2 separate regions of the Homo sapiens genome follow, and region 2 is linked to region 1. Evidence: promoter capture Hi-C in human tissues and cell types (Jung and others, 2019). All regions are on one chromosome and are shown on one strand. The core of a region is centred on a gene start or on the middle of the fragment in contact, and the rest is flanking DNA. Distances in the headings are between cores, read along the strand shown.

Region 1 (5,535 bases), core at 897-3,396:
CTATCCCTTAGGATTGACTAAGGACTAAATTGAACAAATGGAGTAAGTGTACAATAAAGGATAGCTTTTGTTTCCCCAAATTTATTATAATAAGGACATAATATTTTCATAATGCTTTCATAATTCATTATATGAATATTTTCATATTCATATGATAAGGACATAATACTTTCAGAAAATAATAGCTGTGTGATTTTTTTCATGCTAAGGAGAGTGAAAAAATGGAAATAAGGGTCAAAAGCTCTGGTTTTCCCCAGGAGCAGGGAAAGAACTCCAAATTCCTGAGGGGTGAGGGAACAGCATAACCAGAGACTAACAACAATAAGAACCAGGTGTGGTGGCCACGGCCTGTAGTCTGAGCTTCTCCGGAAGTTAAAGCAGGAGGATCCCTTGAGCCTGGAAGTTCGAGGCTGCAGTGAGCTATGATTGCACCACTGTACTCCAGCCTGGGTGACAGAGTGAGACCTTGTCTCTAAAAAAATCAGCGAAACAAACAGAAAAAAACAAGGATGAGGAATGAAGCAGCTGCAAGAATTCAGGGAAAGAAGGAACACAGAAGCCAGATGTGGAAAAAGGAAAATGATCCAGAAAAGCAAGGCCTGAGGCAGAAGGAAAGGAGAATGTGTGGGATCAGGGCCTGAGAGGGGACATTGCAAGGAGTCCTCTCAAAGCTCTGGGTACACAAGACTAAGGAAACCCCCATCTCACTGGGGCTCTTGTCCCTGGTAAATTAGGCGATTAATGAATGATTCTCTTGTGCTGAGTCCATGCCCCTCGTAACTTTTTTTTTTTTTTGAGACAGAGTTTTACTCTTGTTGCCCAGGCTGGAGTGCAATGGTGCGGTCTCGGCTCACCGCAACCTCCACCTCCCGGGTTCAAGCAATTCTCCTGCCTCAGTCTCCAGAGTAGCTGGGATTACGGGCATGTGCCACCACGCCTGGCTAATTTTTTGTATTTTTAGTAGAGACGGGGTTTCACTATGTTAGCCAGGATGGTCTCGATCTCCCAACCTTAGGTGATCTGCCTGCTTTGGCCTCCCAAAGTGCTGGGATTACAGGTGTGAGACGCAGTGCCCAGCCTGATTTTTTTTTTTTTTTTTTTGAGACAGGAGTCTCACTAAATTGCCCAGGCTGGACTCAAATTCTTGGGCCCAAGCAATCCTCCCACCTCAGCCTCCTGGATAGCTGAGACTACAGGTGTGCAGCACCATGCCCAACTCTCTCACAGCATTCTTAGAAGCACAGATTTGGCTCTGGGTTTTATCAAAAGCAGTGACATTTTCCATTGCACCAATCAAATCTATTTAGCCAGGCTACAGGATGAGAAACGATCATCGGAGGTCTCAGTGCCAGTGGAACCATCTTGCAGGCCAAAAAGTAAAGATGACCAGAAAGAGGGAACAAGAATACATCCAGGGTGCAGATACAGAGGCCAAGACAGGCTGGCGGCCTGGGCTGGGATGGGGGGTGGAGGGGCTCACCTTTCCCATTCTCTAAGTCAGAACAGCTCCTGGATTTGTAAAAGTGCAGGAGCCCCATGGACATAACGTGGGCTGATGTGTGGATTCTGTTGCTGACATCCACGGGCCAGCGCTGGTAGAAGAGGCTCCTAGAGAGGTCCAGCCATTTCTTGGAGAAGGCCACGACCAATAGTAGGATAAAGGCAACCAGGCTGAGCTCAGAGGCCAACACCTGGGCCATCCAGCGGAAGCTGTGTGTGATTCTCCATTGAAAGGGCAGCGGAGAGTTCTGGCGCTGGCCCAAGGACCTGTTACTACTGAGGGAGAGGGTGGAGGACAGCAGTCTCCCATCTTGTCCCAGCTCACCTGTGCCCCATCCTGCCTCCCCACTCTTCCTTTCCTTTCCAGGTCTCTGATGTTGGTCTCTTTCTCCTTCTGACCTGGGGAACTCATTCCCAGAGTACTCTGCATCCATCTTGAGCACCACTTCACCCTCTGTCTCCCCTTTCCCTCACCAGACTCAATTGTCTCTTCTCATCTTTTGGATATTTTCATCAGCTGCCACCATGCAGCCTGAGGTCTGAGAAAGAATGAGGAAGTCTAATAACAGACCTCGATCAAATAAGAGACTCTTGATCCAAGAGAAGGCCCCAACCCATTCAGCAGGCCAGGTCCCCTAACTGCCACGGAATTTTCCTGGGGCACAGTGAGATGGGGGAGGGAAGCCAAGTCTTCAGCAATTTTTTTTTTTTTTTTTTTTTTTTTTAGAGAGAGAGACAGGGTCTCCCTCTATTGCCCAGGCTGGGATGCAGTGGCACAACCTTGGCTCACTGCAACCTTGAACTCCTGGGTTCAAGTGATCCTCCCACCTCAGCCTCCTGAGTAGCTGGGATTACAGGATTGTGCCAGCATGCCTGGCTAATTTTTCAATTGTTTGTAGAGATGGGGTCTTGATATGTTACCCAGCCTGGTCTCAAACTCCTGGCCTCTGCCAGGCACGGTGGCTCACGCCTGTAATCACTGCACTTTGGGAGGCCGAGGTGGGTGGATCACCTGAGGTCGGGAGTTCGAGACCATCTTGACCAACATGGAGAAACCCCATCTCTACTAAAAATACAAAATTAGCTGGGCGTGGTAGCACATGCCTGTAGTCCCAGCTACTCAGGAGGCTGAGGCAGGAGAATTGCTTGAACCTGGGAGGCGGAGGTTGCGGTGAGCCGAGATCGCACCATTGCACTCCAGCCTGGGCAACAAGAGTGAAACTCAGCCTCAAAAAAAAAAAAAAAAAACTCCTGGCCTCATGAGATCCTCCCCACTTGGCCTCCCAAAGCACTGGGATTACAGGTGTGAGCCACCTTGCCTGGCCTGTGGCTCCAGCTCTAACTCTTTCCGGAAATCCTGTTTCTCAGGCCACAGCTCAGAACTGTGGATCTGACACCTCCCTCCAGCTTCTGCCTCCCTTTACATATGAGCAATGGTATGTGAGAGGCCCTCCTGTGGTCTGCATATGGTTAATTTGTCTTCACCAAACCTCATGCTGAAATTTGCTCCCCAGTGTGGTGGTGATGGGAGGTGAGAGGGCCTAGTGGGTGGTGTTTGGGTCATGGGGGCAGATGCCTTGTGATTGGATTAACGCCTTCCCTGAGACCTCACTCCATTAGCTCCCCGCAATAGCTGGTTGTTAAAAAGAACCTGGCGCTGTTACCAAGCAAAAGTGCTCGCTGCCAGATGTGCATAGAAGCCAATACTCCAATACTAGGGCACTAGGTTTTGAGAAAAGGAAAGCTTTATTGTGAGCTGACCCACGAGGATACGGGAATCCAGCTCAAATCTGTCTCTCTTTGCTGGTCTTAAGGCAGTACTTTTATTAGAAAAGGTTTAGGGGGAGGATTCTGGGATTAGCGGGTGATTGGTGGAAAGAAAGGAGAAGTCTAGAAAGTCCTTAATCATGTCTGGTTATCTCCAAGGTTCTTCGTGGGTTGCATGTGCAAATTTGGTGGCGTTAGTATGAAACAGCAGGTGGAAATTCAGGCTGTGACATCAGCAAGCTCGTTCTGTGCGGATTGCTGTCAGCCATACGGGTTCCCACTGATTTCAGCCAGTCCTGTTATAAGCAAAGGGATTTTTCAGCATTTCAGCAAGCTGTTTCTTAGCTGCCATCCTGTAAACTCGAAAATGTCTGTTAATCACTGGTTTATTTAACTGTTTGGGGCACAGTTTCAGCTCCTCCCTTACCTTGTGATCTCTGCACAAGCCAGCTCCCCCTTGCCTCCACCATAAGTGAAAGCAGCCTGACGTCCTCAACAGATGCCCAATCTTGAGCTTTCTGGCCATCAGAATTGTGAGCCAAATAGCCCTTTTTTCTTTATAAATTATTCACCCTCAGGTATTCTGTTATAGCAACACAAAATGGACTAGGACAGTCCCCTTTTCTCTTCCTAGTTCCTCTGCCCTAACCCCAACCCCAAATGCTCACTGATGGAGCAGGGGGAGGGAGCAGGAGCTTATCCCCAGGAAAAGATCCTCCCTCCATTGTTCTTTGGACATGTCTTGCAAAGATGTCATCGAGCTTCCCATTGCTTTCCCCAACCCTTCACCTCCCTCCCAGCTCTACTCACTGCTAGTCAATCACCACCAGTTCCTTCCCTCTTCTTTTGACTTTTCTTTTTCCTTTCTTTTTTTTCTCAGCACCAGAAAGAGGAGGATGTAGGATGAGAATGGGTCCTAGAGGTGTCATGCCTTCTGAGATTGTTATAATTTTATTTATTTATGTATTTATTTATTGAGACAGTCTTCCTTCATCACTCAGGCCAGAAGGAGTCTCTGTCTAAAAAAAAAGAACATAGGCTTTGGGGTCCAACAGGCAAAGGTATGAAAAATGGGTCTTCCCCGCCTTTTTTTTTTTTTTTTTTTGAGATGGGATTTCACTCTTGTTGCCCAGGCTAGAGTGCAATGGCGCCATCTTGGTCAGCTAACTGCAACTTCCGCCTCCTGGGTTCAAGCAATTCTCCTGCCTCAGCCTCCCAAGTAGCTGGGATTACAGGAATGAGCCACCACGCCCAGCTAATGTTTTGTATTTTGTAGAGACAGGATTTCACCATGTCAGTCAGGCCGGTCTCAAACTCCTGACCTCAGGTGATCCACCTGTCTCAGCCTCCCAAAGTCTTGGGATTACAGGTGTGTGCCACCACATGCAGCCGGGTCTTCCTCTTAATAGCCCTGTGAACCTGGATGTCATATAGCTTCCTTATGCCTCAGTTTACTCATCTGTAACACAGGAACAATATTTTTCTCATAGACTTGGTAAGAGTGCTGAATGAGATAATGATCAAAAAGCACTCACTAGTTCATAGTAAATTCCCAGCAACTGGTAATTATGTTGTTAAATTATCATTTTAATTGTTTTTACAGTCTTTCACTAGCAAACAGGGAAAGAGCAAAAATGCAGAAGATAATTCCTGGCAAGCATCCTTGCCAGTCAGTGGCATCTGCAAATCATGGAACAGATTAACTCTCCAAATTAACTCTCCTTGTAAGCAAAAGGAGAGTGAACTATGAATCCTGATGTCACCTGTGCAGTGGGACCTCAGGAATGGTTGAAAGTTGAAATTCAAAGCCTGTGAGGGCGCTTCTTCTGGCTGTGGTCTCTGCCCCTCCCTGGGCGTCTTCCTCTGTCTCTGCAGACCAGCCTCTTCCTCTGCTCTGGTCCACATGGTGGGAAACATGGCCCTCACACTCCAAGCTGTGTATCAGACCCCTCCAGCTGCTGGAGGGGAGACCTCTCAGTCCCAAGTCCAAGCATTCTCTGGCCCTGCCAGGGACGAGTGTCATCCTTAGAACAAGCAGCTACAGTTGGGGCACTGGGTCAGAAGACAGAATCTTTTTTTTTTTTTTTTTTGAGACAGGGTCTCACTCTGTCGTCCAGGCTGGAGTGCAGTGGTGCAAGCTCCGCCTCCCGGGTTCATGCCATTCTCCTGCCTCAGCCTCCCGAGTAGCTGGGACTACAGGTGCCCACCACCACGCCTGGCTAATTTTTTGTATTTTTAGTAGAGATGGGGTTTCACCGTGTTAGCTAG
Region 2 (5,535 bases), core at 1,742-4,241, 51 kb after region 1:
GGAAGGAACAATGGGGTGGCTAGACAACCAAGGGCCCACATTCTGGCTCTAAGCCCACATTGAACTGGTTGTCTGGACAAGAGATTCCTATTAAGGACCCATCCTTGGCAGTGTTAGGATGGCAGCCCCTGATGCTGGGCTGTCTGAACCCCACCCCCGGTCTTCCCCACACTAGGGCATGTTTCAGGCGCTAACCGAGATTGGCCAGAAACATGGTCTGGTGGGGTTATGGCGTGGGGCTCTGGGCGGCCTGCCCCGAGTTATCGTCGGTTCCTCCACCCAGCTGTGCACCTTCTCATCCACCAAGGACCTCCTGAGCCAGTGGGAGGTACTGCCTGGGAAATGGGTGGGTCTGTTTCGGGAAGGGGGGAAGGGGAGGGCAAGCTGCACTAGGCCCTGGAGGGGATGGTGCCCAACATTCACAGGTGAGGGAGTGGCAGGAGGGCTTGGAGGTCAACTCTTTAGACCCTTCCCACAGTTCTCTTGTCACTTCCTCCCAGAAGGGGTACCTGAGCCTTCAGGGTACCCTGGCCTTCCTCCTTCTCACTGTTTTTGCACTGTTATAACTGGTGCAGTGGAAGCTCCCCCAGTTACCAGCATCTGTGTCCCCAGGGCAGGGACTGTCCTGTCCTTGGGGTGTAATAGTTGGCTGGTTGACAACGCTCTTCCTCTCTACCCCCTTAGATCTTTCCTCCCCAGAGCTGGAAGTTGGCGCTGGTGGCTGCCATGATGAGTGGCATTGCAGTTGTCTTGGCCATGGCACCCTTTGATGTGGCCTGCACAAGGCTCTACAACCAGCCCACAGATGCACAGGGCAAGGTAAGGAAGTGCTCTGGGATGCAGGCGGGAAGCAGGGGATGGGGAAGGCAGATTGCGGGTGCAGGTGGGATAGCCTGAAATGCAGCCTGTAGAGGTGCTGCCCCTGGTGGGCTCTGACAAACTCCTTCTCTGTGCTCTCCCTCCCTCTCTGACACACTCTCAGGGCCTCATGTACCGGGGGATACTGGACGCTCTGCTGCAGACAGCTCGGACCGAGGGCATTTTTGGCATGTACAAGGGTATAGGTGCCTCCTACTTCCGCCTCGGCCCCCACACCATCCTCTCCCTCTTCTTCTGGGACCAGCTGCGCTCCCTCTACTACACAGACACTAAATAACAGCCGCTTTCCCAGTCTCCACCAAATGAGCACTCCTTGGCCACTTGTGCCTCCACCACTATGTCCTGGTGACTACTGATTAGGTGACCTTTCATCCATCCATGGGGGACAGCCAACCCCACTCCCCATCTGTTCTCAGGGTTGAATCACTACAAGAGATGAGTTTCCCTTCTTTCCTTGGGTGTTGCTTTAAACCTTCCCTACCCATTCCCTGGGTAACTCACACCCCTCTCTCAGGGCTGAACGAGTCATCCCAAAGTGTATTTCCTCCCACTCACCACTGCCACCCTTGAGTCCCTCCTGCTCCCATGCACAGTTTTAAACTCCTCCCTCCAAAACCAAAGGGAATCGAGAGACCCAATTCCCAGGCGTCTGGGACCCAGGTGTCCTGTTAGATTCAAAGGCACAGAGATTATATTGATTATAAAGCAAGTTTATTCTGAAGAGGGATTGTCTTATGTTTACGCACAGGGAAGAAATAAGAGGAAACCCTCTTTTCAACCTCTTTTCCCCCTCACAGAACCGAGTCCCCAAGTTCTCAGCAACATCATGCAGTGCTTCAGCGCCTTTACTGGGGACCAAAGATGTTAGGATCGTGAAGGGTCAGACTGGTCACCAGCTGTTCAAAGTCACCCAGGCTCCAGGGTGCAGGTGACAGATTTTCGGGGCCAAGAGATGACCTGTTGTCAGGGCTTGGGGTGGGGGAACAGATGGAGACAGAACATCATCCAGGCCTGAGGTTTGGAAATTGCCAATTCCTGTTCCCCAGAGGACCTGGGTATCAGTTACCCCAAACCTCTGGCCCACTCCTGCTTCCTTGGAGGATCCCACCAGTGAGTCTCCCTGTTCTGTCCCTCCCAGCCCGATTCTCCTGGGAACCCAGTCATGAGATACCCGCCCGTTCCTTCCTCCTTACGGGGGCTGATTGAAGGTAAGCAAGAGATCAGTCTGGTACTGGGGCAGCCTCAGCAAGGCCTGATGAAGTGTCACGTCCTTTGCTACCTAAGGGGATCAGAGTCAGGATGCTTACCTGGATCTCTGCGTCCCCGCTACCGCCCTTCCAGGACATTACACACTCTCGGGCCCTCACCTGCTGGTTTTCCTTAGCTATCTGCTGCTTGCCAGAGAGGACCCAGGCTTCTTGACAGCGGCCCCTCAGGGCCAGGTTCTCCAAACTGAGAGGCTGAACAGACTCCACATGGACAGCCCTAGCCCCCTGCACGCCACCAACATCCTCAAAGTGGTACCTGGAGTAGGGAAGCGGGGTCAGGAAGGGACATCTCTGGTCGCCTCCCCGGGAGCATCTTTAAGTTGCAGGCCTGGCTCCCGGCCCGTGCGTGGTCTCACCGCCCGGATTAACCGTCGGCCGCGGGCCCCGCCCACTGGTCCGACCCCGCCCCTGCCATTGGCCAGCCGGGGGCCATTCCCTCACCGCGCAGCCGCTTCGCCCCGTACGTGGGCCTGCAGCTCGAGAAGTTCCACTATCAGGCTCTGGTCCGTCACGGGATGGCAGAAAACTTCTTGATTGTCCGGGACCGGTCGGAGGTCGCTGGAGTGAGGCGAGGCAGACCCTGGTTGACCCCGGTCTCTTCCCACAACCCACCCAGTCAGCCGCCCCTGGGCGCCCCGGCCTTCTCACCTTACGTCAATGGCCCCCATGGGGAGGATGGCGGAAAAGGCGCCCCCGAACAGCGGGCAGTCTCTCGTGGGCTCCATGGGTCTGAGGCTGGGTTATGGGCATTAGAAAGGTTTAAAAGAAGTCCACATTGGGTCACGTGGCATCGGCTCCCTGGGTTTCGCAGCTGCCACCGCCACCCGGGTCTGGCTTAGCTCCCGGATCCTTTAAGATTTGGCTCCGCCCTGCGCTCTCGTTGGCCAATCGGCGCCAAGACCCTGGGGGCGGGGGTCAGCGGCTTTGCTCCGGAAGCCGCGCTCTTAGGAGTGCGCCTGGCGGGACGGTGGGGTCTGCCTTGGGGTTGGACTTAGGGTTAGGGTCTATGTCGCCCCCGGTGGTCACGAGCATGCTCCCGCCAGCCTCCTCTTGATTGATTGATTGATTGATTGATTGACAGGTCTCGCTGTGTCGCCCAGGCTGTAATGCAGTGGCGCGATCACCGCTCACTGCAGTCTCCACCTCCAGGACTCAAGTGATACTCCTGCCTCAGCCTCTTGAGTGGCTCCTGCTCCCGCCACCACGCCCGGCTAAATTTTTAATTACTTGTAGAAATGGGGCGGGGTGGGGAGTGTCTCCCAATCTTGCCCAGGCTGGCCTCAAACTCCTGGACTCAAGCGATCCTCCCGCCTCGGCTCCCTAAGTGCTGGAATTACAGGCGAGAGCCACAGCGCCTGGCCTCCTCGTCCTTTTCAAGTGGTCACACCTTCCAAGAAGGTCGCCTGAGACCCTCCTGAGGGGCAGGTGCTCGTCAAAGGGGCCCACGTCTAGGTAGGGTCTCTTGAGTCAGGAAAGCATAGTTTCACGGTGTTCTGGGCCTCTGAAAGAAGAATGGGCTGCCACCCAGACCGCTAATTCATAGATCTGCTGCTGGGAATTAGGGGAACAATGCGTCCAGGTTAGGATTCAGGTCTCACATCTTCCTGAAAGTGAGAGCCAACCTGGGTATTAGAAATCTAATTCCTCTCAAATATTTGCCTTGGGAATGCTCCCGGGCAGGTGCAACCCCACCCCCAGCTCCACACACCTGGACAGAAGCACAGATTAAACCCTCTTTTGTTTGTCTTTTACAGATTTGTTGTGTTCTTTAAGTTTTAACTTCACTATATCATTTCAGTTCATTTCTCTATTCATCTTTGATCCTCAGCACCCGGCACGGTGTTTAGAGCATAACAGACCTGATATATATTGGGTTTTTTTGTTTTGTTTTGTTTTTGAGATGGAGTTTCACTCTTGTTGCCCAGGCTGGAGTGCAATGGCATGATCTTGGCTCACTGCAACCTCCGCCTCCTGGGTTCAAGCTGTTCTCCTGCCCCAACCTCCCAAGTAGCTGGATTACAGGCATGCACCACCACACCCAGCTAATTTTGTATTTTTAGTAGAGATGGAGTTTCTCCATGTTGGTCAGGTGAGTCTCGAACTTCCGACCTCAGATGATCCGCCTGCCTTGGCCTCCCAAAGTGCTGGGATTATTACAGGCGTGAGCCAGCGTGCCCAGCCCAGACCTAATATATATTGTTAAGTGATTGAATAAACTCAATGCAAATGTCTGGAACCCAGGAGATCACCCATACCCTCATGGATTCTAGATGTCACCTACTTCCCAGCCAAGAATTGGGCAAGAGGACTCTGATCTTGAGGCCATTCCACAGGGTTCCAAGTGCTGACCATACCTCTGGACCCTAATGACTTAGTGAAATGAAGCCAAAGGGTACATATTTATTGGTCTCTTACCTTGCCAGGCCCTAATGTGAAGGGCTGGAGATACAAAGACATTTAGGACACAGCCCCCGATGCCTCACTGAAGGAACAGTGGAGCACACTTTGAGTCTTTTTTTGTTTTTTTTTTTGAGAGGCGGTCTCACTGTTGCCAAGACTAGACTGTAGTGGTGCAGTCGTAGCTCACTGCAGCCTCAACCTTGTGGGCTCAAGCCATCCTCCTGCCTCAGCCTCCTGAGTAGCTGGGACTACAGGCATGCACCACCATGCTCCGGTAATTTTTGTGTGTGTGTGTGTGTTTTATTTTAGGGATGGAGTCTCACTGTGTTGCCCAGGCTGGTCTCGGACTTCTGGTCTCAAGTGATCCTCCTGCCTTGGCCTCCCAAAGTGATGGGATTATAGGCATGCGCCACCATGCCTGGCCCATACTTTGAGTCTTAAAGTTTGACTCAGAATTCAGTAGGACATCCTAGGGGTATTCTAGCTGGGGGAACATCAGGAGCAAAAACTTGGAGATGAGAGGGCATATTTTGGAGAAAGCAAGTGTATCTGTTTGGCAAGGGAGGGTAGGATGGGAATGGGTGGCAGGGAGCTGCAAACACAGTCAGGTGTGCAGGGTTTTTGTAGCGCACACTAAGGAGCTTGACTCCTCATTTCTTACTATAGCCATCAGACTCCTCTCTGAGTCTCATTTCCTCATCTCTAAAATGCTGTTGGGGGGCCAGGCGCCGTGGCTCACACCTGTAATCCCAGCACTTTGGGAGGCCCAGGTGGGTGGATCACCTGAGATCAGGAGTTCTAGACCAGCCTGGCCAACATGGTCAAACCCTGTCTCTACTAAACATACAAAAAAAAAAAAAAACAAAGGAAGAAATCAGATATGGATGTAGTTGAGTCTGACCTATTTCTGGGTAAAGAGAGTAGAATAAGTTTGCTGTATGAGGAATTTGACAGAGCGGGGGCGTTACAGGCTCTAGAGGGAAAGAAG

The links. Contacts are between HindIII fragments. The study calls those that stand out against the background at their distance.
Region 2: a contact is called between the fragment with the promoter of RANGRF here and the fragment with the promoter of ODF4 in region 1, in 2 of the 25 tissues and cell types used here (aorta and bladder).

What each region holds. Positions count from the first base shown.
Region 1 is chr17:8,336,451-8,341,985 of GRCh38, reverse strand. ODF4 (outer dense fiber of sperm tails 4) reads right to left here and starts at 2,146. Exons shown (of 3, transcript NM_153007.5): 1 at 1,481-2,146. The coding sequence starts at 1,934. It overlaps LOC124903916 (a long non-coding RNA gene), which reads right to left and starts at 3,929. Exons shown (of 2, transcript XR_007065607.1): 1 at 3,695-3,929; 2 at 3,228-3,563. The HindIII fragment of the contact is 12,554 bases long and covers 1-4,753 here.
Region 2 is chr17:8,286,126-8,291,660 of GRCh38, reverse strand. RANGRF (RAN guanine nucleotide release factor) reads right to left here and starts at 2,991. Exons shown (of 5, transcript NM_016492.5): 1 at 2,796-2,991; 2 at 2,589-2,705; 3 at 2,247-2,403; 4 at 2,073-2,158; 5 at 1,574-1,848. The coding sequence starts at 2,872. The coding sequence ends at 1,725. SLC25A35 (solute carrier family 25 member 35) reads left to right here. Exons shown (of 5, transcript NM_001320870.2): 3 at 176-328; 4 at 685-819; 5 at 983-1,600. The coding sequence ends at 1,156. RefSeq lists enhancers at 2,269-2,338, 2,619-2,738, 3,099-3,328 and a silencer at 2,489-2,538. The HindIII fragment of the contact is 21,210 bases long and covers 1-5,535 here.